Linked DNA regions of Homo sapiens: all the other regions are linked to region 7. The links are contacts of gene promoters, found by promoter capture Hi-C in blood cells and fetal thymus (Javierre and others, 2016). All regions are on one chromosome and are shown on one strand. The core of a region is centred on a gene start or on the middle of the fragment in contact, and the rest is flanking DNA. Distances in the headings are between cores, read along the strand shown.

Region 1 (3,501 bases), core at 274-2,773, 5.7 Mb before region 7:
TTATATTTTATGAAGCTACATAGTCTTACCTCCAGTTAACGTTATTTAGAGATGTATCTACCTTTTCCCCTACATTTCTTGTAGTGTTACGATCCTGTAATGGTTTTTCATGAAAGCAGGAGAAAAATATTAGGGTTATTACTTTTATAATAGCCTGCCTTTTTCCTAGAACATATTTTAATTTAAAAAAATGAAGAGTACAGATATTCTGTATTTTATATAAAGCTGAAAGGGAATGTAAGCAGGAAATGTAATGGCAATGTCTTAGGTAAGTACTATTATAATTATGAATGGTTTTCTTTACTTAAACCTGGATAACTATTTGACATTGCTTCCCTAGAGATCTTTGTAAATATTTTATCAATAACATTATAGTTGGCTAATTTGGATATATGTAGAGGTACTCATCTCTATTTCCATTTAAACAGTAGAAAATCTGATTCATAGGTTATATACAAAGTAAGTGGATTTTTAAGTTTACATTAAAATAGAAATAGCTAACTTTAACTAGACTATCAAAGTGAAATATTGTAGTGATACTAAGATTTTATAGTACCAACATAAATAGTATCAAACTCCACTTACATTTACAGTAAGTGGTCACTTAACATAAGGTTTTTGGAAACTGTGACTGTAAGTGAAACAATGTTCTGTATAACAACTAATTTTACCGCAGGCTAATTGATATAAACAACAGTTAAATTGCTAAGGCATATAGTACATCATGTTTACTTGAAGTTGCAGTTTCCAAGGACCTCTTGATGACGTTAAGTGAGGACTTACTGTACTGTGAGTTGTTATTGTGGAAATCTATTTTCCTTGAATGTAGCTCCTCTAAGGTACTTAAAATTATAGCTTTAGTCTTGTTTACAAAATTTACTTCAGGTGCTGAAGTAAATCCCATTCAACATTAAGAGAATCTTCATGAATGTAGCAGTATAATTGGACCTGGTGGCCCTCTCTGAATATTATTGAGAAAGGTTGTGGTCATTTCTTTCTATTTTTTAATAGAGACAGGGTCTTGCTCTGTTGCCCAGGCTGGAGTACACTGGGGCAATCATAGCTCAGTGCAGCCTCAAAATCCTAGGCTCTACCAATCCTCCCATCTCAGCCTCCCAAGTTGCTGGTACTACTGACATGTACCACATGTCTGGCTAATTTTTTTAAAACTTTTTTGTAGAGACAGGGTCTTGCTATGTTGTCCAGGCTGGTCTTGAACTCCCAGCCTCAAGCAATCCTCCCACCTTAGCCTCCCAAATCCTGTGCTGGGATTACAGAGGTGAGCCACCATGCCTGGCAAGGTTGTGGTCATTGATAGGACGTTTTGCAAAGCATCCTTGAAGGAAAGAGGATATATAAATGCAAATTAATGACTGAAAATATAACCTGTGTTTTGACATGTTAGAATACATAATTACAGAAAAATTATTAAAACTAGTAATTTTGACTGGAAGTATACTAGGAACAATCAGAAATCTTTCAGGCAGTAGTAAATTTTCTTCTGATACTTGATTTGCAGTTATTTTGCTAGTTATAACATAGTTTGTCAATGGTAGCCATTTCTGATTGGTCATCTTATATGAAAACAACTTGAATGTTTATCAGCAAGAGAGTGTTTGAATAAATTCTGGTCCATCTATACCAAGATATATTATAGGGCTATTTTTTAAAAATGAATTTGAACACTATCTTTTGATTTCTAGAGATGTTTATGATTCATTGATAAATGCAAAAAGCAAAGTTTCAAAGTAATAATCCAACATTTATAAAAACAACTAATCACAACTAATCATAAACAAAAGAGGTTTATAAAAACCTCTATGTGTGTAGAGAAACTCTTAGTCAAGTTTTCATAAAGAAGGAACTTCTACCTGTAACGGAAGCAGATTGGGAAGAATCATTCCTATTTCTGTCCACCCTTCACTTACAAGAGGAGAGGGCAATAAGTATTTACTACTGAAAATACACATGCATTATTTTAGTAATTTTTTAAAATTAAAGAAAAATGTGAAAGAAAATGTATTTTTTCTGATCATAATTGCTCTCCCTAATTTAACCTTGCTTTTAATTTTTTAGGTAGTGTACATTCTTTTTCAAATGGAAGAGCTGGTTATAGCCAACAACATCAGCATCGACATAGTGGACATGAAAGAGAAGAGGAAAGAGGAGATGTACGTTTATGACTAGAAATCACAAAATGGCAAATTTCAGCTCAGGAAAAGTAATTAGAGTTGTCTGAAAAGAGGGCAAGTAGTTGTAGGAAATAATGAGTTTTCTCTTACTAGAGGTGTTTGGTAGAGACTAGAAAATCCTTAGGGACATTGTAGGAATAGGAAGAGAGGTCAGCCAGGGGTGGTTGGATAGTATGACCCCTTTAGATTTGTTATTCTATGATTCTAATGAAGGTACACCTGCACTATGCATGTTGTGAAGGTAACTTGTTATTGTTGGCCCTGAAGAATTTAGAGTACTGAAAAACTTGAATTGGAGGTAACTTTCCTTGTTCTAATGCAGTTATACCTAATTGCCTATAGCAATTTAATTACATGAAGTGGAAAGGTAAATGGAAAGAGCACTAGACTAGAAATTAAAAGGCCTGGCCCCCAGCTTTGCCACTCATCAGCTCCCATCTTCTACCCTCAAATCCAAGGTAAAAAATGGTTTTACAGCCTGCAGCATATTGATAGCGTCTCTGTGTGTGGGGGGGAGGGAGTCGGGAAAGAGAAAGAGAAAGAAATGAAGACTTCCTCATCTATAAAATGAAATCAAATTTTATCAGTGTTTTTCAAATCAGAATCTCCTGGTGATATGCCTGGATAATTATATTTAAGAATCATCCTATTGGCATGGTTACGCAGATTTGAAAGCACTGAACTAGATGATCTCAAATGCGCTTTCTGCCTCAAAATGTATGACAACTGTTGTATTATTAACAACTACAGTTATATTACAATTTGTTATTCTTTGATCATTTTTTATAGGGAGGTTTTTCTGTGTTTATCCAGCTGATGCCCATAATTGTATTGATCCTCGTGTCATTATTAAGCCAGTTGATGGTCTCTAATCCTCCTTATTCCTTATATCCCAGATCGTAAGTAGCCAAGTGAAGTTTTACAAAAAATGAATTGTTGCTATTTCTGACCTAGCTTCCTTTAAAGAGCTTGTGCTCTTTTAAACTTTTAAGTGCCAAATCTATTACTGCAAGTGTACCAGATTTTAAATTTCTATCTAATTTTTTAAAATAGTTACTTTAAGTAATAAATTTGTCTTATGTTGTTAATTTACATTTCTATTCTTCCACTGTGGATAAGGACAGAAATGCTATATTTGAACTTGATAACAATTTAATGTGGTAGGTAATGTGTTGACATTAAAGGCAAAAAATACTCTAAAGGACAAAACTAAAGACAGAGCAATGATTGATGTTACATAGATTTATATCATTAAGGGGAAAATGACTTTACTCTTCATTTTGCAAAATATCGATTAAATAAAAGCAAA
Region 2 (3,398 bases), core at 420-2,919, 5.4 Mb before region 7:
TATGAGTAGGAAATGTTAAAGCACAGAAAAGAATGGGCCCTTTATTCCTCCAAACTGTTTCCTACCTCTTTCAACAGGAGATAAAGCCTAAAACGGTTCAAATAAGGTGGACTGTGCTAGAGTGTCATCCTCTTATACTTTCCTTTTTGATAAGTATTTCTCTGTTTATGCTTTGCAGAGATCTGGCAACACTGGGCATTGGGGCATGTCCCATTTATATTGTTGACTTAATTCCTTTTGTAGGATAGTGCTCTTCAGAGTATGTATAGTAATATTTTTTGATAACTGTTGTTAGATAAAACCAAAACAGAAAGTAATATTAGCCAAAAAAGTCAGAATCTCTTTCATTTGCCCTTCAAGTGCATTTAGAATTTTTAAGTGACTTAAAAGCAACAAAACTGTTAGTTTTGAATCTTCAAGAAATATTTTTTAAATACTCCTTTGTCAGATTTATATGAGTACAATCACTGATAACTGGCTTAGTCAAGAAGACAAAGCAGAGCTGAGTTATTGGTGAGGTTTGAAGAGACATGCAGTGATGATAAGGGTGATAGGTAATGGCATTTATGAACCCAACAGAAAACTAAAGGGTCAGAAGTTAAAAAAGAAGATGAAGGGTAAGAAGAAAAAAGAACTGGAAGATGATTAATAAAAATTGACTAAAAAGTAAGGGTGGGGTGAGGGATTGAGAGAAAGACTGGAAATGAAGGAAGTGTACAGGTTTAAAGGTGACAAAATTAAATAGAAGGTAAAAATACTATATAAGGAAAACACAGAGAAGGCGCTGAAAATAGTCCAACCATGACAAAGTATAATTAAGAAAAAGTAGGGAAAACTTGAGTCTTTAGAAAGTTCACACAGCAAATCATATAGATGTGCTCTTTTATCCTAATCCTAATACCCTCTTCAGATTCCAATCTGCCATTCAATTTTCCTTTTTCTTTTCTTCCTTCCTTTCTTTCTTTTCTTTCTTTTTTTTTTTTTTTTTGAAACAGAGTTTCGCTCTTATTGCCCAGGCTGGAGTGCAATGGTGTGATCTCAGCTCACTGCAACCTCCACCTCCCAGTTTCACGCAATTCTCCTGCCTCAGCCTCCTGAGTAGCTGGGATTACAGGCATGCGCTACCATGCCTGGCTAATTTTGTGTTTTTAGCAGAGATGGGGTTTCTCCACGTTGGTCAGACTGGTCTCGAACTCCCAACCTCAAGTGATCTACCCACCTTGGCCTCCCAAAGCGCTGGGATTACAGGCATGAGCCACCACACCCAGCCTCAATTTTCTTTAGATTCTAACCTGCCCTTCAACATCCACCCAGATCTGAGGATTTACCAAACAGTTGCATTGGTAATTTAGAGATGAGTTTTGAGGCAATGAGGCATGGGATCCCCAAATTTTAAATGGACTGATTTTAAGGTAAACTCTTCACAAGTTGTTTGCTAATTAATGTCAGTTGTTACAAGGGCAAAGAATCTATAATTAAATCATGGTACCATAATGCAAAAAGTTATTCCATCTAGGTAAAGAAGCTCTCAAGTTGTACACTTTTAATTTATGATATCAGCATAAGCAACGTACCATGATGCTGATGAAGCTTAAGCTCTCTTGCCCAGGATCCTTCCAAAGACTCCAGAAGTGGACCCTAGCAATGTATCCACATGCCATATCTTTTTCAGTAACCTTTGCAATAGTAAGATATTTTTGTAATCTTTTCTCAAAAGTGGCCCCTAAATTATATATGTTTCAAGCTTTAAAAATCTAGATTTACTACTAAGCTTGTTTACAATAAACTGTAGCTACCTATAATATTCTAAACCACATTTTCTCATTTATGCCATTTCCCAATTATGCCATTGTCTAGTGTATGTGTATATTTAAATTTTTTTTTTTTTTTTTTTTTTTTGAGACGGAGTCTCGCTCTGTCGCCCAGGCTGGAGTGCAGTGGCGGGATCTCGGCTCACTGCAAGCTCCGCCTCCCGGGTTCACGCCATTCTCCTGCCGCAGCCTCCCAAGTAGCTGGGACTACAGGCGCCCGCCACTACGCCCGGCTAATTTTTTGTATTTTTAGTAGAGACGGGGTTTCACCGTTTTAGCCGGGATGGTCTCGATCTCCTGACCTCGTGATCCGCCCGCCTCGGCCTCCCAAAGTGCTGGGATTACAGGCGTGAGCCACCACGCCCGGCCTTAAATTTTTTATAAGTATATTTGAAAACATGAGGTCACCCAATGTTCTAGTTTATAAAATGGGAAAACAGGAGAAGCTCATGATAAGTACCATGTCTCAATTATTTTTCTCAAAATACTTATGGTATTAGGTTTGATACTATGGTATTTAAATCACACATATTTTGACTACTCAACAGTTTATTTGGCAGATGAAATAGTAAGTCCTCTATATAACACTCTCAGTCAGATATAATTTATAAATCTTCTTCTCATTAAAAAATTTCTTTTGTCCAAGTAAGAACTGTATGTTTAAATAGTAAATATTTAGAAATTGGTGAAAATATTTTCTTTAGTTCAAGAACCTACAGTGTGATTTGCTGAGGTGAATTGGTTTAAATTTAACCCTCTATTGCTCCAATAATGAAGATTAGGTTTTTTTCCTCATGTGGAAATTTTCTACACAAAAAATCCTGAGGCAAACTTTACTTTAATATCAAAAGCCACATTTATCCCTAACAGGTTTTATAAGTTTATAAGTGAATTGTTTTCTATCAATTACTTAGAGTACATGGTTTTAAAATTGGTCCCTATAACGCTATGTTGTTATATCAATTGGTTTTTAACAGTGTGTCTTCCTAAGAAACTAAAAAGTGATCATTTTACACAATGCAGCATTTGGAAAACCGATGTTTATAATGTAGCTGATCTGAAACATGATTCTATATTAATACACTTCACAACAGTTTTATGAAACCATTCCTCATAAAATGTTTTTTCACTTGCCTTTTCAATGGTATTAATTCATATGTATTTTTAAAATTAATTTCATCTTAAAATAGAAACTGTAAGTAGCAACATTATTTTTCCAAAGATAATGTCTTATTTCTTAAATCTGTATCAGGAAATTTAATTTTCTTTAATTCACTATGAATTCTATCATTTTTTAATTGTAACGGAATTAAATATATGTTGTGCCATTTCATTCATAATTCTTTGGCAAATCAAATGCCTTTTTCATTGGGTCTAATTCTTCTTGAGGTCACATTGCTAAGCAACTAAAAGAAAATTTAAGAACTCGGTTTTTAAAAAAAATCCTCATTTACAATTCAAATGAAGGAGCTGCATTCAATGTGACCAACAACAGCAGGTAACAATAGTGGGTATCTTTTTTCCTTCTTTTAAAAACAGACCATGAATGAGAAATTGAAGCAAGAACACACTGGTCTGAGGAACTGA
Region 3 (3,363 bases), core at 155-2,654, 5.7 Mb before region 7:
GAGGCATTGAAGCCTGGCAGGGTGTGGAGGGCTTCTGCCTGAAGGGGTGGAGGTGGCAGCTACTGCACAGTTTCAGAGCCAAGTTGGGCTAGGTGGACATCTGTAGTGAGGGTGGGAGCAGCAGTGGCCTGGAACTGAGCATTGAAGCATGACTGGGTGGTTGGAGTGTCGGGGTAAGGGTTGAGTAGTAGAAACAGCAATGGGAGATTGCTTATATTCAATTGATCACCACATAAGTGTACTGAGGATGATAAGATCCATATTTTCTCACTGTGGGAGAAGGGAAAACACTAGAATGAACTTTGTGGTATTGGAAGCATTGTTGTGAACTCATGGATCGATGAATGAATCGACAGATAAATACAGATGTAAAAGTATATATGTGTACATATGTATATACATACATATTTTCCCAGCTCTGCTCACTGAGTGGGCTGGGAGAGTGACATCCTGATAACAATAAGCACATAGTACCTAGATGTCGATTTCTAGAGTACTATTCTGTGGAAAAAGAGCAGAGTTTCTTGGAGAAATAGCTGGTTCTAGAGCTGGGTACAAAGAAAGAACAAGATAAGTCTGGATCATCTTGCTATTCAGAAAGTAAGAAAGTTCTTAAAAGAATTTTGAGGCCAGGCCAGGCACGGAGGCTCACAACTATAATCCCAGCACTTTGGGAGGCTGAAGCATGAGCATTGCTTGCACCCAGGAGTTCGATACCAGCCTGGTTAAAATGGTGAAACCTTGACTCTACAAAAAAAAATAAAAAAATGAAAATACAAATATTAGCCAGGAGTGGTGGTACACACCTGTAGTCCCTGCTACTCAGGAGGCTGAGGAGGGAGAGTCACCTGAACCCAGGAGGTCGAGGCTTCATGAGCCGTGATCACACCACTGCACTCCAGCTTGGGAGACAGAGTGACGGAGTGACACACTGTCTCCAAAAAAAAAAAATTTTTTTTGAGGTCATATGAACACAGACACCACTTGAAAGGGCTCTTTCCCCGACTGGCCAAATCAGGGAAATTTTGAAGGATCAAAATAAATAATGATAGTCATGATTATAACCATTTGATATAAAAATGATTGAAAATTTTGAAGAATAAAAAGCTTTTCCTTACAGTAGAATGACAACCAATGAATGTAAAAAGGAATAAGAAAATCAGAGAGTCATCGTTTGGTAACAATCATAGTAATGATTAAAACAGCCAAGACACATCAGTAAATGCTAAAATTGGCAAGTAAAAATTTAATAAGTAACAGAATATTCTTATAGTCTCAAATAACCTCACCCCAAACATTTTTTAATAACAAAGGGAATATGGTGACTTTAGAGTGAAGAAACCTGGCAGACACCACTTAAGTAATCAAACACACCATTATGAGACAGATTGCAATTGTGTTCCATCTGAGAAGACACAGTGAGAAGCACAAACAAAGCATCACTTTTGTGGTATTTGTAGCCAACATGAAAAAACCTGTATCTAATCATGATTCAATATCATATAAACCAAAGTTGGGAAACTATTTACAAAATAACTGGTCTTTAATTTCAGATGTGTCAAAGTCACGAAATTAAGGAAAAACTGAGGAAGTGTTCCAAAGTGAAGAATCTTCCAGAGACAGGACAGATAAGTGCAACTTGTGCTTGAGGACTGGATCTTTTACTCTGACGGAACTTACTGAGAAAACTAGTGAAGCTTGAATGAGATCTGTGGATGAAACAGTGGCACAGCCTCAATGTTAATTTTCTAGTTTGGAAGGCTCTATCTGGTCACGCAGGCAAATGCCCTTATTTTTGGAAATACACACTGAAATATTCAGGGTGATGGGGCATCATGTAGGCAATTTACTATCAAACGACTTGGGGAAAACCAAGTTCTGTGTACTATTCTAGCAATTATTCTGTAACTTTGACATTATTTCAAATAAAAAAGCATGTTAAAACATAATAGTGGATTAACTGAATAAATTGATATACTCAAATAATGGAATATTATGGAATTTGTTTAATGGTGTTCCAGAAAACTAAGTAATTACATGAAAAAAATTTTAAATATATAGTTAATTAAACAAGAATATTACAACTCTACAATGAAGAGCTCATTATTTTATGTGTGTGTGTGTGTGTGTGTGTGTGTGTGTGTGTATATACATACATATACTTTTTTTTTTCAAGTAAAAGACTGAAAGGATAAGCAACAAAATGTTAAACCTGAGAAGAGTTTCAAAAACAAAATACTGGAAAAGGGCAACGTGCAAGGAAAGTATCCAAGAAGAGGAACTATAAAATGTGTCAAAGATTACGGAATAAAGACAGAAAGATGTTGCCAAAGCTAAGGAAACAGAATTTTTAGAAGGAGGGAGTTGTTAAAAACGTCAAATACCACAAAAGGGAAGCTAAGGAAACTAACATTTTAGATAGGACCTATTATGTCAGGAACTTGAACTATATTAATCTCAATCTCTACCAAGACAACTAATTGGTATTTCTCATTTAACATGTCCAAAATAGAGCTCTTCTTTCTCATCCCCTCAACCCACCCCTCCTGCAGAGTTAGCCTTCTCAGTAAATAGCAGGGCTTCTCTGCCATGACTCTGCTACTCTTTCTTTCGTGTATCACATTCAATCCATCTGCAAGAATTTTTTTAAACAAGCTCAGAAGGTAAAGAATTCTCATGTTATGTACAAAAGGTACTACTGAGATTTTGGGCAAGATAATTCTCTACCACTCTTTGAAGAATAGTTAGCCCCTGATCACTGTTGGGAAATAATCTCCACGGGTCTCTTGTCAAGGTTCCAAATGTCTTATGAGCAAGGCATTAACAGTTCTTTGCTGCAGACTGATATTTAAAGTATGCTTATACAAGCAGCCTTGGAATAAAGAAATATTTCCCTTCAGAACAAAAGACATGTCTACTGATCATTAGAAAAGATTTGGGTTCCCAAGGCTCAGGGTTCCTCTCCTGTAGGGCAACCCATTGTGGATATCACCTGGCCCTTTCAATATTGCCCTTTGGGAACTTCGGCTCAGCACAGGGAATTAGCATAAATACTGATATCCTGGCTGTTGCTCTTCCTGTGAATAGCAAACTATTTTTCAACGCTTACCCAGAAGTCTTGTGTCATCCATCAGCATACATGAAACTGCAGCAGGCTAACTTGTTAGCTTGCAAGCAGAGTAAAGTCAGACTCTTCATGGCTCTTGACACTCACGCATGATAGTAGTGCCGCAAAGCAATGCACCAACAGAAACACTCATATTTCTAAATGCTCAGCTGGGAGGTGCTGCTCTTTGAAAACTCCATTGCCTTATGTGATCTGACCCCTCATTACCTCAATAATCTCACCTTCTACAACTTTTC
Region 4 (3,263 bases), core at 147-2,646, 5.9 Mb after region 7:
GACATCAACTCAACATAATATTACTCAAGGTTATTACTATAATTTGTGAGCCGTCAATATGAGAGTCACTCTCTAACCTGGTTATTAAATGCACTGGATTCAAAACAGTTGTCCCTGGCCTAGAATAACTAAAATGCCAAATCAAGTTAATTATTTATCTTTAAAATCTCTAATCTCTCTGCTCTTCTCTCCCTTCAGTGATATTGTCATAGTTTAATCAAAGTCATCTTCCACCTTAAATTTCATCTGTCATCATCTCCTAATCAGTTTCCCAATAGCTTATTTTAACTGTTCTTTGCACACTAACCAAAGTGATGTAAAGTCTAAACCCAGACCCTTTCACTTCTTTTTTTCGAATGCCTCAATAGAAGCCCATTAAATTTAAAATGTAATGCCAACTCCAAGCCCCTGTCTGCCTCATCTCTCTCACATCATGCTGTTCTTTCCCTCCCTCAATATGCTGGAGACACTTTGGCTTTCTTTCTGTTCTTCCAAAACGCCGGGCTGTCTCACCGAGAGACCTTTGTCTGCTGTCCCCTCTGCCCAAAACAATTCATCATTTTATTGGTTCCATGGCTGAATGACTGATGGTTTAAATGCCATCTTATAAAGTTCTCATATAACAATCTTATCTGAAGTTATCCTCCAGTGTCCACACCATGCCTATTTCTTTCCTTGACATGATTAATTACTATTCTATGTGCTTGCTTACTTGTTGGTTTTCTCCCTCTTCTTTGTTAGACTGAAAATTCTATGAGGGCAGCTATCGTGTCTAGCTGTGTTAGGGGCGTATCCCCAGTGCCTAGCAAATGTATAGCATACAAGACGTCCTTCAATAAACACAGAAATACTTGTTTAATGAATTAATAGACATTCCCTAAAGATCACAAGATACCTGTTCAGCCACGAAGAAGACTGCACTGTGCACTGCTGTTCAAAGACATGGCAGTGAAATCAGATGCCTTTCAAACTCTAAGCCTAAGCAGTATTGGCATTCCGTTCTCGGTTTCCTGGCTGTCACAACTACAGTCCCTTAGCCCGAAGCGAAACCCCCTCCGCGCTCCGCCCGCTGGCTAGGTACCAAGTCTCGCGGCCCCACCCACCGCGCAAGCGCGCCCCCTCTTTGGCTGGGGAGCTAACCTCGGGAGGGCGGGGCGCCGCCGCGAGCCACCACTGGCACAGGGTGACGTCGCTCCGCCGCGCAGCTGGAAGCCTGCGAAGTCAAATAGCAGCCGCGGGGAGGCTCGTTCCCATCGGCATCTGTGACTGGCTGCGATCGAGGGCCCGGGCGGCCGGCCAGCCGTCTCGCCGAGTGCGGACTGGCCGGATCTGCTGTCAGTCAGCGGGAACAGACTTCTCCCTCTCCATCTGGTCAACTGCGGGAGAAAAATTTTCGAGAATTTCCAGCAGGCAAGGCAGTGGCCGCTTTGACTGCTTGCTTCGGAGATCCGAGACGACGGAGAAGGCACTCTTATTTACCGACCAAGAAAGCTCCTCCCCCGTCCTCCGTTAGCTAATTAAAACATTTTTCAGGGACGTAGCCATCCAGAGGTAAGAGCCTAGAGAGTGCAATTCATTTATTTCTGCTAACCATGTATGCTGTTCTTTATTGGCGGTCGCGGAATGGAGAGTAAACGGAGAAGGGTTTCCCGGGAGGTCGAAGGGGAGACGTCGGTTTCCGTTCCCCCGCCCCCCGAGTCGGCGCTTGGCCGGCGGCCTCTCGGAGTTCTCAGAGCGTCGCTTTCTTCCCTTTGGAGGTCGTGAGCAGCTCGTCGGGGTGAGGCGGGGCCCAGCTGGGCTGCCTGCGCCCCGGGCGGCGGGTTTCCAGCCCAGACTGCGCTCGGCCTTGAATGTGGCCGCAGGCTGGAGGGCCAGCGCGGCGCGAGGCGGGCAGGGTGGGTGGGCTGGGACTGGAGACCCTTGCCCGAGGCCCCGGAAGCGAGGATGCTGCGGGGTGGGTGCCGCGTTGCCTCCCGGGCGAGGGAAACGTGGCGACAACGGGCTCGGTACGCCCAGAGGGAGGTTGGGAGGCGGAGACCTGGCGGCAGAAGGTGCCGAGGGAGCCCAGCTATTTGCGAGGCTTCGCAGGCAGGCGGGCGTGTGTTCTTCCCACCGTGTGTCACCCTGACCACCCGCCTGTCAGGGCCAGCGAGCCGAGGCCAGGATCCTGAGCTGTACCCAGGTGAGCTTTTCAGGAGGTCCGGCATCGTGAAGGATGCACAGCCCCGGCTGGTTTTGATCCGAAGACTTGGGTTTTACTTTGCGCAGGGAGCGCTGTAGTACTCAAGGCGTTGTAGCTGGTGATGTCTTTTTCAGCAGCCGCTTTCTGTAGATGAGGGAATTCACCGGATGTGACAAAGAGGCTCCAGGTGGAAATAGCCAGGGAATTTGCAGTCTCAAAAGCTCCACGGGCTTTTCTGAGCCTCCCACTGCTAACGTGCAGCAAGGCCTCATCGGTTCTTTCCGTCAGGGCGGAGGAATGAGGCTGTCCTTCGGTTTCAGAATGAGCGACTAAAGTGACAGATTACAATGACGATGAAAAAGAGCAATGAGACCGGTAGCAATGGCTCACGCCTGTGATCACAGCACTTTGGAAGGCCAAAGCGGGCTTGAGCCCAGGAGTTCGAGACCAGCCTGGGCAACACATCGAAACCTCGGCTCTACAAAACATACAAAAATTACCCGGGCGTGGTGGCATGTGCCTGTGGTCCCAGCCCCGGAGGCTGAGGTGGGAGGATCTCTTGATCCTGAGTGGTCGAGGCTGCAGTGAGCCGAGATCGCACCACTGCACTCCAGCCTGGGCGACAGAGCAAGACCCTGTCTCAGAAAGAAAAAGAAAAACAGCCATGGTTTGTGGTGTTCTGGTTAGGCAGCTGTGGCAGGAAGAAGAGCAGCACGTGCGTGTGTGTGTGTCTGATAAAATACCTTAGTTACAATATTTGAGTAGTGAGTTCTCGCTAATAATTTTTTCTTGCAACCTTAGTCATTACTACTGATCACCCAGGCAAATTCCTTGACTGCAATCCTTAGAGACGAGGAAAGAAGAGAGGAGAGTGGCTGGTGACATAATAGACTGTGAAGGAAAGTTCTTAAAGGCATTATAAAGTTACAGGTTTGGGATATAGTCTGTGGCTTGTATGCATATTTACTAACGTGTCTTAAAAGATATCTATGGGAATAGAATACTGAGTACTTTTCACTGCTCACATTTCACACTTTTCTCCAGTCACACATCTGAACATAGACATATTCACATTAAACCT
Region 5 (3,249 bases), core at 386-2,885, 5.6 Mb before region 7:
CCAGGAGGTTACATCAGCAGTCAAGCATGAAGGCTCTGGAGCAAAACTCTTGGATTTGAAGGTATGTTAGAATGGAAACTTAAGCATGTGATTAAAACTCTGTTCTTTACTTTTCTCATCTATAAATGGGGACAACATTAGTAATAATACCCACCTCACAGCAATGTGTAAATTAAACAAGTTCACATGGGCAAAGGGCTTAAACTAGTGCTTAGCACATGATAAGCATCCAATAATTACTAATTGCCATTACTAGAATACATACCTTTGACCAGTGGGCTCTACAAAGCAGCACCATGCAGTGGAAAGCTCTGGGGTAAGTTCCTAGGTGTGTCTCTCAGCTCCACTACTTACAAAGTCTGTGACCTGGATCGTATACTTAGCTTATTGAAGTCACCTTTTGCGTCTATGAAATGAGTATGGTGATATCGTATTGAAAGTGTTATTGTGAAGCCTAAATGGCATTATGCGTGTGAATGGTATGGTGCTGATGCATAGTAGGTGGTCAGTAAATTAGGACTATCACAGCAGGGAAACAACCTGGTTTGTGAAGTCAGCATGGGTTTTGAACACAGACACTCAGAGACTGTAGGCAACCTGATTTTTCTGCTCTTGAGTCTCTTCCTGTGTAAAGCTGGAATACCAGTGCCTTTCAAAGACCAGAGCTGGTGTCTACAAAATGCCTGCCTTATAATACGGACTCATTTTGTTTATTATCATTTATTCCGTGGGTCAGCAAACCACCAGCTGAGGGTTAATTCCTGTCAGACACCTGTTTTAGTATGGACTGGGAGCCAAGAATGGCTGTACATTTTGAAATGCTTGAGGGAAATAGAAAAATATTCATAAAAATTATATGAAATTCACATTTCAGTGTATAAATAACGTTTTGTTTGAACACCATCACGGTCATTTGTTTCTGTGTTCTCTGGTAGTTTTTGCACAACAGCAGATGTGAGTAGTTGAGGTAGAGACTGTAAGGCCTGCAAAGCCTAAAACATTCGTTACCCGGCCCTTTATAAAAAAAAGGTTTGCTGCTCCATGGTCTACTCTAAACTTCTCTTATATGTGACTAATTAGTTATCAATTTATTTAAATATTCAGAGCTTGGAATCTAGTTCTTTGGCACTGGCCAATCCAGCCAAACACTGGCACTTTCTTATACAACTTTCGATTTGAGAAAGTATTTAAAAAAGAGAACGTTTATTATGTTTCTCACTTGGAGTTACAACTGACTAGATCATTTGAATATTTAATTTTAAAGTATGCTAAAACACTTTCATTTTGTTATTTCTTTTGTGTTTATACATATATATAGCTATATGTAGAAATAGTATAGTAACCTTTGTTAAAGCCAAAGAATTGCTGGAATTTTCAGTAATTTAACTAGCTATTCTTTACCAGTTTGTTACTTAGGTGATATCTCCAGTATTTGTTACTTGTTTTATTTTGCCATATTTTCATTTTGCAAGCAGCAAACAGCCTGACCCATCTCCTCGTTCATGGTCCACCTCCTTCCTCTCCCCTGATTCTCCACACCCTCACTTCTTGCCCTCCCCACACCTCTCTTCCCCCTAAGCCCATACCCTCCCCTGAGAAGTGTAAGCGAAGCTGAGCAACAATTTAAGATGGTTTTATTTCTCCTTTGCTTCTGGACACATTAATGTATTTTAGATGAAAGAAAATTAATGATTTTAGGCTGACACTCTATAAATGAGACATGGAAAAGCACTGTGTTGCTTGATTTAGGTATTTTAGAAAATAATAAACCTGTACTCTGAGCAAGTTGTATATGTCCTGGAAAGGCAAGTGATGGATTTGCTGCAGTTCAGGGCTCAATTTACAGGATTTACATATTCCAGAGCCTGAAAAAAACAGAGGCCCAAGAACAAAGACTTCTGCTATTTCTGTAATTTAACCACTAACTTATCTGTTTATGTCTATCAAAAACATAAACGTAAGGATTTATCTAACTACTCAAATAACCTCTTAAAAATAATTGAAAAATTAAGTCATTAAAACCAGCTACCTTTTATCTATCCATTACATTAAATCATTTTGTTTTTAAGGAGGTCTTTGGAAACTAAATTAATCAGAAGGTTTGGTAGAGATTCTATCTCGCCAGTGGTTAAAGGTTCAAAGAAAAAGTCATTATAATGTTCGAGTTATGTTCAGTATTCTGGCAGAGGCAACAAGTCATTGTCAAGAGTTCTCAAATTGTTATCTATAAAAAATGTATCAGTGAGGTGCTGCAGGAGCAAGTACTGGCACAAGTTGATTATTAAATATTCAATTCGATGATGTTAAATTGTTGGCAGCTTGAAATTGTCTATAGTGGGAGTATTTATACCAGGGAATTAGGCAAATTCTTGAAATCAGGGCTTTCTCCACACCCCAACTCTTCCCAGCTGTTTTTCCAGCACACTGTTGAGTATGCTTAAATAAGCCATACATCTGAGGGTTCTTTTTGGGAGAACAGAAATGTCCTAAAACTGATTTATGGTGATGGTTGTATCACTCTGTAAAGTTAGTCAAAAGTATTGAATTGTACACTTGAAACGGGTATATTTTATGATATGTAAAATAACCTCAATAAAGTTGCTAATCGAAATGCCCCTAAACCAACAAACAAAATATCAACATTTATTAGTAATTTTAAGATTCAAGTACACACCCAACAGACTTAAAATGAAAAACAAGACCACATTTACCTAATGCATTTGGTAGATACATATTCTATGCAGTGATCATCAACCTAGGGTCTCACTTTGGAATTACTTGGAGAGTTTGACAAGAAAACACCCATCCCCAGAGATACTGAAATCATTTGTCAAGTCTGTGGTTTGGGTGTCAAGATGTTCCAGAGCACAGCCAAGGTCAAGAACCAGGACTGTAGAGCAGTTTTCCCAGATAACTGCAGGTTGCCCATTGCTATAGAAATCATCCTCATGTTTATTAATTGTTCACGCCTTCTGAAATAGGGAAATCTGGCCATGAATGTACCCTTTTTTTTTTGCAGGGAAGTGGTGTGACTCAGTTTTGTATTCAATGTCTATTCTTTGCACATGGAGGAAAGACACAGTCCTATTCCACCCGTGGGTTTCACCTGTAGTTGCTTCTTGCTGTTGACATCATGGTGGGGCACAGAGACAGCATCTAATTCATCTTTGTCATCTAAGTGTGTTCCCACAGTACTCAACCATAGACTCTGGGTTCTAGGATTGTTTGTTTAACTAAAGGACCAGAATT
Region 6 (3,474 bases), core at 935-3,434, 5.7 Mb before region 7:
GATCTCTGCTCACTTCAGCCTCTGCCTCCCAAGTTCATGCGATTCTCCTGCCTCAGCCTCCTGAGAAGCTGGGATTACAGGTGCATGCCACCACACATGGCTAATTTCTGTAGTTTTATTAGAGACAGGGTTTCACCATGTTGGCCAGGTTGGTCTCAAACTCCTGGCCTCAAGTGATCCACCCGCCTCAGCCTCCCAAAGTGATGGGATTATAGGTGTGAGCCACGGCGCCTGGCCACACCCAGCTTACGTTGTGAATATTTTTGATCCTCAGTTGGTTGAATCCATAGATGTAGAACACAGGAATACAGAGAAGGAGGACCCACTGCCTAGGCAAATACACTATTATTTAGGAAAAAAATTTCAACACATGGACTCCCTTCCCCTGCCCTGAAAATCCTAAAGATCGATATTGATATCAATAATAGATAATAAAAGGATATGATAAGAATCTTGATTTTTTAATTTTAAAACAATAAATTTCCAAAAATTCTGAGGACTAATGTATGGAAAAAGTAAATTAGTGCTATATTAAAAGCATGATCTTTTGTTTTCCTGAAATGGCAGTGGATCTGGGTGGAGTAGATTCTGCTGATCTTTGTCATCTATTCCCTGCATTTGTGAATTGTTACCTGTGTGCAATCTGTGATCATGAGAAGTGCAAAGCTGGGCAATTTGGAATTTAAATCGATGGCTTTGGTTTTATCAACACTGAATTAAACACATAGGCTTCTCAACCTAAACAGAATTCAGGAAGGACTATGGCCTCGGTGCCAAAAATATTATTACATCACTCTACATATTCTTCGCACTTAACGAAACTCTTTCACAATTCTATCAAGTTGGTTTATCTGGTGTTACGAATCCCTATTTAATAAATGAAACTGTGCCTCAGTGTTTTACATACTTCAGGCCATATAGCAAGTAAGTGGCTACCCAAACTCAACCCTCATTCTTTTACTCTAGTTCAATATTTTGCATAATACCACACTGGAACTCAGTTATTCACAGCTGTGTGAATCCTTGAAGGCACATATTTTTCCTAGGTGCCCTAGGTAGAGAGAACCAAGATTCTAATGTAGATTTCCTGATGAAAAGAATTTTGCCGCCATTATCGATCTAGGCTAATATCCTTGGAAATAACTTGAGAACTTATTCATATTTTCTTAAAAATACGTTTTTAAGGCAAGATGTAGTTGAGAAATTTATAATTCCCAATTGTAAGACTCTCAAATTCTCTACATAAAAAGACAAGAACAATAGTAGTTAACATACATGCTAGTGTTTCAAAGGAGATAGCAACTAGTCATGGAAAATCTGGCTTAGTTAGGAAAAGGCTATTAAGGAAAGTGTCAATAATAGTGGGTTCGCCTACCTCATCTGAGGATTTTTTGTTGTTTTTTCGAGACAGGATCTCAGTTTATCACACAGGCTGGAATTCAGTGGCACAATCATGGCTCACTGCAACCATGGGCTCAAGTGGTCCTTCCACCTCAGCCTCCCGAGTAGATGGGACCACAGGCAGGGGCCACCATGCCTTGCTAATTTTTGTATTTTTAGTAGAGATGGGGTCTCGCTATGTTGCCCAGCCTGGTCTTTAACACCTGGGCTGAAGTGATCCTCTTGCCTTGGCATCTCATATTTTTTTATGGTGAGAGAACTAATTGGGTATGGCATTAAACAAAAGTAATTACATAGCTCTGGCTAAGTACATTATATACATGCATTACTATTAACACAGGAACTGGAAAGATAAACCAACAATATTAACATATTTGCATCATACCTTTTCTGGGGGGGGCAGGAAAAAGAGTAGGAAATCATCATACCACTCTGAGAAAAGTGCAGAAAGTAATACTGTCCTGTTCTCTGAAGGAAAATTATTGAGTTATTAAACCAATTTTGGATTTTAGTTTGGATGTTGGAAGACTTGGTTGTGTATACTTTGGGCAGGTTTCAAGCTTGCTGCTTCCAAATCGAAGAAAGAAAATAAACCAAATAGCAAAAAAGATTTAGAAATAAAAGATACTTTATTTCATCCCTCTCCAGCATCCAATGTAGAAAATAATAGCAGTTATTTACTGAGGGCTAACTACGTGCCAAACACATGCTACTATGTACATTGCATACCTTTTTCCTTAATCTTTCAACCATGTGAAAATAGATGATACTATCTTTTCACAGAATAGGAACTCGAAGCTCAGAAAGATTAGTAACTAAGATGACACAGTGAGGAGGAGGCAGAACAGAATCCATCTGTACTTGCTTCTGAGTTCATCCTCCTAACCACTATTCAGCGAGGCAACAGTAAATTCCCTTTATGGGGCTTCATAGCAAAGAGCTGGCAGAGTATTATCTAAACTAGAGATGGCATTAATGTTGGTTTTTTATATATCACAAAGCTTCCCTGGAGCCATCGTTAACTATCAGGTTTCATAGCTTAATATATCATTATTATATTATCAGTAGGAAAACGGCTGAAGTCTTGCTATCGACGACATCATAAGAGTTCCTTGGTTCCAAGAAATAATAAACCTCAATGTCAAAATTGTTGGGAAGCTCTTCTCTAGAATTTATCTCACAGAAATTGGGAGGTCCTCTAATTCGATAAAATCTTTCAAATTGAAACCCAATCTAAAGTACTTCAGAGTATATGTTTGTTGTTGTTGTTGTTGAGAAAGTCTCGCTCTGTTCCCCAGGCTGAGTGCAGTGGCGCAATCTTGACTCACCACAACCGCCGCCTCCCGGGTTCAAGCAATTCTCCTGCCTCAGCCTCCAGAGTAGCTGGGATTACAGGCGGGCGCCACCATGCCTGGCTAATTTTTGTATTTTTAGTAGAGATGGGGTGTCACCATGTTGGCCAGGCTGGTCTTGAACTCCTGACCTCGTAATCTGCCCGCTTCGGCCTCCCAAAGTGCTGGGATTACAGGTGTGAGCCACCATGCCCAGCATAGAGTATATGTTTCAAAATGTTCGTCACATTGAAACTATTCAATTATGTTAAAAAATGTAATACACTAAAACACTGCAAATGAGATTGAGACACTACTGTCCCCAAGCAGCTGGAGATGTACATAGGTGTTAATAACCTACTAGTTGGAAGGATAGTACTGTGTGTACAGTACCATTACTTTAACCTCATCATTTGCAACTGATTGCATTGCATGGACCCTCTAACTGCCTGAAAATCATGTCAGAGTTACTCCATCGACATTTGCCGAACATTTGTCATGTGGCAAAATACTTACTGTAGAAAAGTTGACACATAATAGCTCTGAGGTTTCACTAAATGAGCTTTACACACCAGGCTACAGGTACAACCCATTGATGTGTAGTCTCCAAAAAATATGGTTTATGATTTGATTAAAGAATACTGCCTCGCCAGAAGCTCCCTAAGTATAGACAAAAAGGGTTTCGTGACCAGTGAGGTGACTTGGCTTCACCGTTTGCTGTCACAGAACTATTCCGTGGAGG
Region 7 (3,179 bases), core at 19-2,518:
TGCTGATGAGGTTAAAAATGTTCATTCACCATGAAGAATACCAATTACTCATTTGCATTCTGAGGACATCCAGGAAGTCAGGTGGATGCAAGAACTTGATGTGATCTGATCTTCCCTTGTGTACAGAGGTTGTCTTTAGGCACCTTGCTCAATGTCTAGCTCACAGTAGATGATCAATATTTTGAGGGAATACTGGAATGAATGAAAATGTCTGCCCAAATAGCCTCAAAGTTTATCATAGGACTGAATCACTGACATCGCTCTTCCAATAGCAACCGTTCTGACCTATGGATGCCCTAAATTCTAATTTCAACTTCCACCATGGGGCCATATTCGAAGAACTCATATAAAAGTGAGGCGACAATGGATGGATGCTCAGTTGAGGGTACATGGTGCTTATGGCAGTCCCAAAGCTGTATTTAAAAGGGCACACCGCAGGACAATGCATCAATATATATGACATCAAGAATAAAAATGAGAATCCCTTCTGCCTTTCATCTTTTAAAAACTGTCCTTGATGTTACATCAATTTTAACATTGTAACTCACCTGTTTTTTCAGTTATATCTGAATCAGGAGTGTTTGCCCTGCTAACTTCCCCTTCAGCATTCTCCTCTTCAGCACTAAGAGAAATTGGTGAAGAAGGGCCAGGCTGGGAAGGTTGAGGGGTTGCTTCGGGCGCTTCCTCAATCTTATTCCTTTTCTCAAAGCGAAAACGGTCCAGGTTGAAAAGATTCATATTGGTAGAAAGCACCACCTTGCAGGGATGGGGGCTTTAAATGAACTATCTGCAGGGGAAAAATAAAGAGAGGAAAAAAGGCCATGAAAACAATATACGATACAATGCCACAGCAGTTTATTCCCAAGGCAATAAAGGGCCCGCAAACATGCCAGTGGCTCAGGACTGTTATGGCTGCGCTTCATTGTTAGGCCGCAACAATTAGAAGGTGGACGGGGGTATCTTTTAAAATTTTCCATTGCTTTTCACTCCCCTTCGTCCGCCTCCCCCGCCCGCCCCTCCTTACTGAAACCACGAGCTGACCCTCATGCAACCTCCTCTTACCCAAGCACGCGCAGGCACGTTCCCCAGTATAACCCCCTAGCGGGCCTCGCGCCCGCCCACAAAGAGAAGCTCCCTGTGCTACCGTGCCCCCTGCCTCGAGAAAGGACCTGCCAGGGCCCGCGCCTCGACACTGCGGGGACACAAAGGGGCCAAAGAAGGGGAGCGGCGGAGGCCGTGCTGGCGGGCATCCGCCCGGAAGTTGACGCGGCGCGATCCCAGCTGAGAGGAAGCTGATAGGATTAAGAACACACAGGAAGGTTCAGAGGTGGAGTGCATGCTAAGGCATCTTTTTAACGTTCAATCGCTCGCTTGTTCTTTCTTCCCTCAGTACTTACGATCTTGTAGCCTCAGTGCTATGTAACAAAGGTTGAAAATAAAAAAAAAATTTCCTAGCGTGGGGCGACGGTAGCCGTGCCGGGACCTTCCAAAACACCACGGAGAAACCTTAAGAGCGCGTAATGATGACGCAACACGCAGCCTAGGCTTTTTCTTCCCAAACAACGCGCGAGCCGACAATGTCGAGGCGCGCGCTGTTGTCATGGTAATTCGTACCCGTCTCCGCCGGCTTGTAAGGGCCAGATTGTTCTGTACCTTTGTCCTGTTAAATTATCTAGAGAGTTATTAAATAGAACAATAGTAAATAGCATAATGACAAAAAATAACAATATATAATACAATTAGTATATATTGTATGTATTATAATCTGTAGTGTTTCACCTATAATATAATGTAGATAGCATAATAGTAATAATACTGTGCTAAGCTTTTTCAGTGTATAATCCCAATCCTTACAAGAAGCCTATGTTTACAAAGCAAAGAAACTGAGACCTGCAAATGTATAGGTAATTAGTGACGGATAAGAACCCCGGGATGCTGAGCTTCAAAGCATTTAAAGTAATTCCTCACTTTCGGCTTGATTGTTCTTAGAATGGAATTTGATTAATTAATTAATTTTTTAAAAATATTTTAATTTTTAATGTTTGCGGGTACATAGTAGGTGTACATATTTATAGGGTACATGAGATATTTTGATACAGGCATGCAATGTGTAATAATCATATCAGGGTAAGTGGGGTATCCATAACAAGCATTTATCCTTTGTGTTTCAAACAATCCAGTTATTTTAGTCATTTAAAAATGTACAATAAGCTGGGAGTGGTGGCTCACGCCTGTAATCCCAGCACTTTGGGGGGCTGAGGCAGGTGAATCACAAGGTCAGGAGTTTGAGACCAGCCTAGCCAACATGGTGAAACTCCGTCTCTGCTAAATATACAAAAAATTAGCCGGGCGTAGTGGCGGGCGCCTGTAATCTCAGCTAATCGGGAGGCTGAGGCAGGAGAATAGCTTGAACCTGGGATGCGGAGGTTGCAGTTAGCCGAGATCACTCCACTGCACTCCACCCTGGGCAACAAAGCAAGACTCTTGTCTCAAAAAAAAAAGTACAATAAATTGTTGTTGACTGTAGTCATGCTATTGTGCTATCAAATACTAGATCTTATTCATTCAAACTGTATTTTCGTACCCATTAACCATGCTCACCGACCACCGGGGTCCTCCCCCGCCCCACACTACCCTTCCCAGCCTCTGGTAGCCATCGTTCTACCGTTTCTCATACGTTCAATTGTTTTAATTTTTTAGCTCCCACAAATATAATAAATGAGAACATACCAAGTTTTTTTTCTGTGCCTGCCTTATTTCCTTTAATATAATGACCTCCAGTTCCATCCATGTTGCAAATGACAGGATCTCATTTTTTTTAATGGCGAAATAATACTCCACTGTGTATATGCACCACATTTTTCTTATTCATTCACCTGTTAATGGACACTTAAGTTGCTTCCAAATCTTGGCTGTTGTGAATAGTGCTGCAACAAACATGAGAATGCAGATATCATTTCGATACACTGATTTCCTTTCTTTTGCATATAATTCACCTATCTTGATGGAAATGTTAGCTTAAGAATATATACTCCTGGCCGGGCGCAGTGGCTCACGCCTGTAATCCCAGCACTTTGGGAGGTGGAGGCGGGCGGATCATGAGGTCAGGAGATCGAGACCATCCTGGCCAACACGGTGAAACCCCGTCTCAACTAAAAATACAAAAAATTAGCCGGGCG

Evidence for each region. The method cuts DNA at HindIII sites, captures the fragments that hold promoters and counts their contacts. A CHiCAGO score of 5 or more calls a contact.
Region 1: a fragment that was not itself captured here is called in contact with the fragment with the promoter of SMARCAD1 in region 7 in 1 of 17 cell types (total CD4 T cells); the score reaches 5.5 in total CD4 T cells.
Region 2: a fragment that was not itself captured here is called in contact with the fragment with the promoter of SMARCAD1 in region 7 in 1 of 17 cell types (total B cells); the score reaches 6.0 in total B cells.
Region 3: a contact is called between a fragment that was not itself captured here and the fragment with the promoter of SMARCAD1 in region 7, in 1 of 17 cell types (total B cells). The highest score is 6.1, in total B cells.
Region 4: a contact is called between the fragment with the promoter of PPM1K here and the fragment with the promoter of SMARCAD1 in region 7, in 2 of 17 cell types (monocytes and total B cells). The highest score is 6.0, in monocytes.
Region 5: a fragment that was not itself captured here is called in contact with the fragment with the promoter of SMARCAD1 in region 7 in 1 of 17 cell types (total CD4 T cells); the score reaches 5.5 in total CD4 T cells.
Region 6: a contact is called between a fragment that was not itself captured here and the fragment with the promoter of SMARCAD1 in region 7, in 2 of 17 cell types (non-activated CD4 T cells and total CD4 T cells). The highest score is 6.1, in non-activated CD4 T cells.

The regions. Positions count from the first base shown.
Region 1 is chr4:99,905,187-99,908,687 of GRCh38, reverse strand. It overlaps DNAJB14 (DnaJ heat shock protein family (Hsp40) member B14), which reads left to right. Exons shown (of 8, transcript NM_001031723.4): 5 at 2,077-2,171; 6 at 2,982-3,091. Among named protein-coding and RNA genes, the nearest start is that of LAMTOR3, 13 kb to the right of the region's middle. The HindIII fragment of the contact is 9,420 bases long and covers 1-3,501 here.
Region 2 is chr4:99,575,196-99,578,593 of GRCh38, reverse strand. The region is part of intron 1 of MTTP (microsomal triglyceride transfer protein); the gene reads right to left. Among named protein-coding and RNA genes, the nearest start is that of MTTP, 2.1 kb to the right of the region's middle. The HindIII fragment of the contact is 154 bases long and covers 1,593-1,746 here.
Region 3 is chr4:99,856,485-99,859,847 of GRCh38, reverse strand. The region is part of intron 4 of DAPP1 (dual adaptor of phosphotyrosine and 3-phosphoinositides 1); the gene reads right to left. Among named protein-coding and RNA genes, the nearest start is that of LAMTOR3, 36 kb to the left of the region's middle. The HindIII fragment of the contact is 590 bases long and covers 1,110-1,699 here.
Region 4 is chr4:88,282,694-88,285,956 of GRCh38, reverse strand. It overlaps PPM1K (protein phosphatase, Mg2+/Mn2+ dependent 1K), which reads left to right and starts at 1,396. Exons shown (of 7, transcript NM_152542.5): 1 at 1,396-1,551. PPM1K-DT (PPM1K divergent transcript) reads right to left here and starts at 1,027. Exons shown (of 5, transcript NR_134238.1): 1 at 896-1,027. RefSeq lists a silencer at 1,034-1,253 and enhancers at 988-1,511, 1,424-1,513, 1,554-1,613. The HindIII fragment of the contact is 7,670 bases long and covers 1-3,263 here.
Region 5 is chr4:99,818,455-99,821,703 of GRCh38, reverse strand. The region is part of intron 1 of DAPP1 (dual adaptor of phosphotyrosine and 3-phosphoinositides 1); the gene reads right to left. Among named protein-coding and RNA genes, the nearest start is that of DAPP1, 3.3 kb to the right of the region's middle. The HindIII fragment of the contact is 5,274 bases long and covers 1-3,249 here.
Region 6 is chr4:99,951,004-99,954,477 of GRCh38, reverse strand. The region is part of intron 1 of H2AZ1-DT (H2AZ1 divergent transcript); the gene reads right to left. Among named protein-coding and RNA genes, the nearest start is that of H2AZ1-DT, 2.2 kb to the right of the region's middle. The HindIII fragment of the contact is 441 bases long and covers 1,964-2,404 here.
Region 7 is chr4:94,205,954-94,209,132 of GRCh38, reverse strand. It overlaps SMARCAD1 (SNF2 related chromatin remodeling ATPase with DExD box 1), which reads right to left and starts at 1,268. Exons shown (of 24, transcript NM_020159.5): 1 at 1,063-1,268; 2 at 549-787. The coding sequence starts at 738. SMARCAD1-DT (SMARCAD1 divergent transcript) reads left to right here and starts at 1,577. Exons shown (of 9, transcript NR_125922.1): 1 at 1,577-1,603. RefSeq lists enhancers at 688-1,191, 1,290-1,649. The HindIII fragment of the contact is 2,630 bases long and covers 1-1,827 here.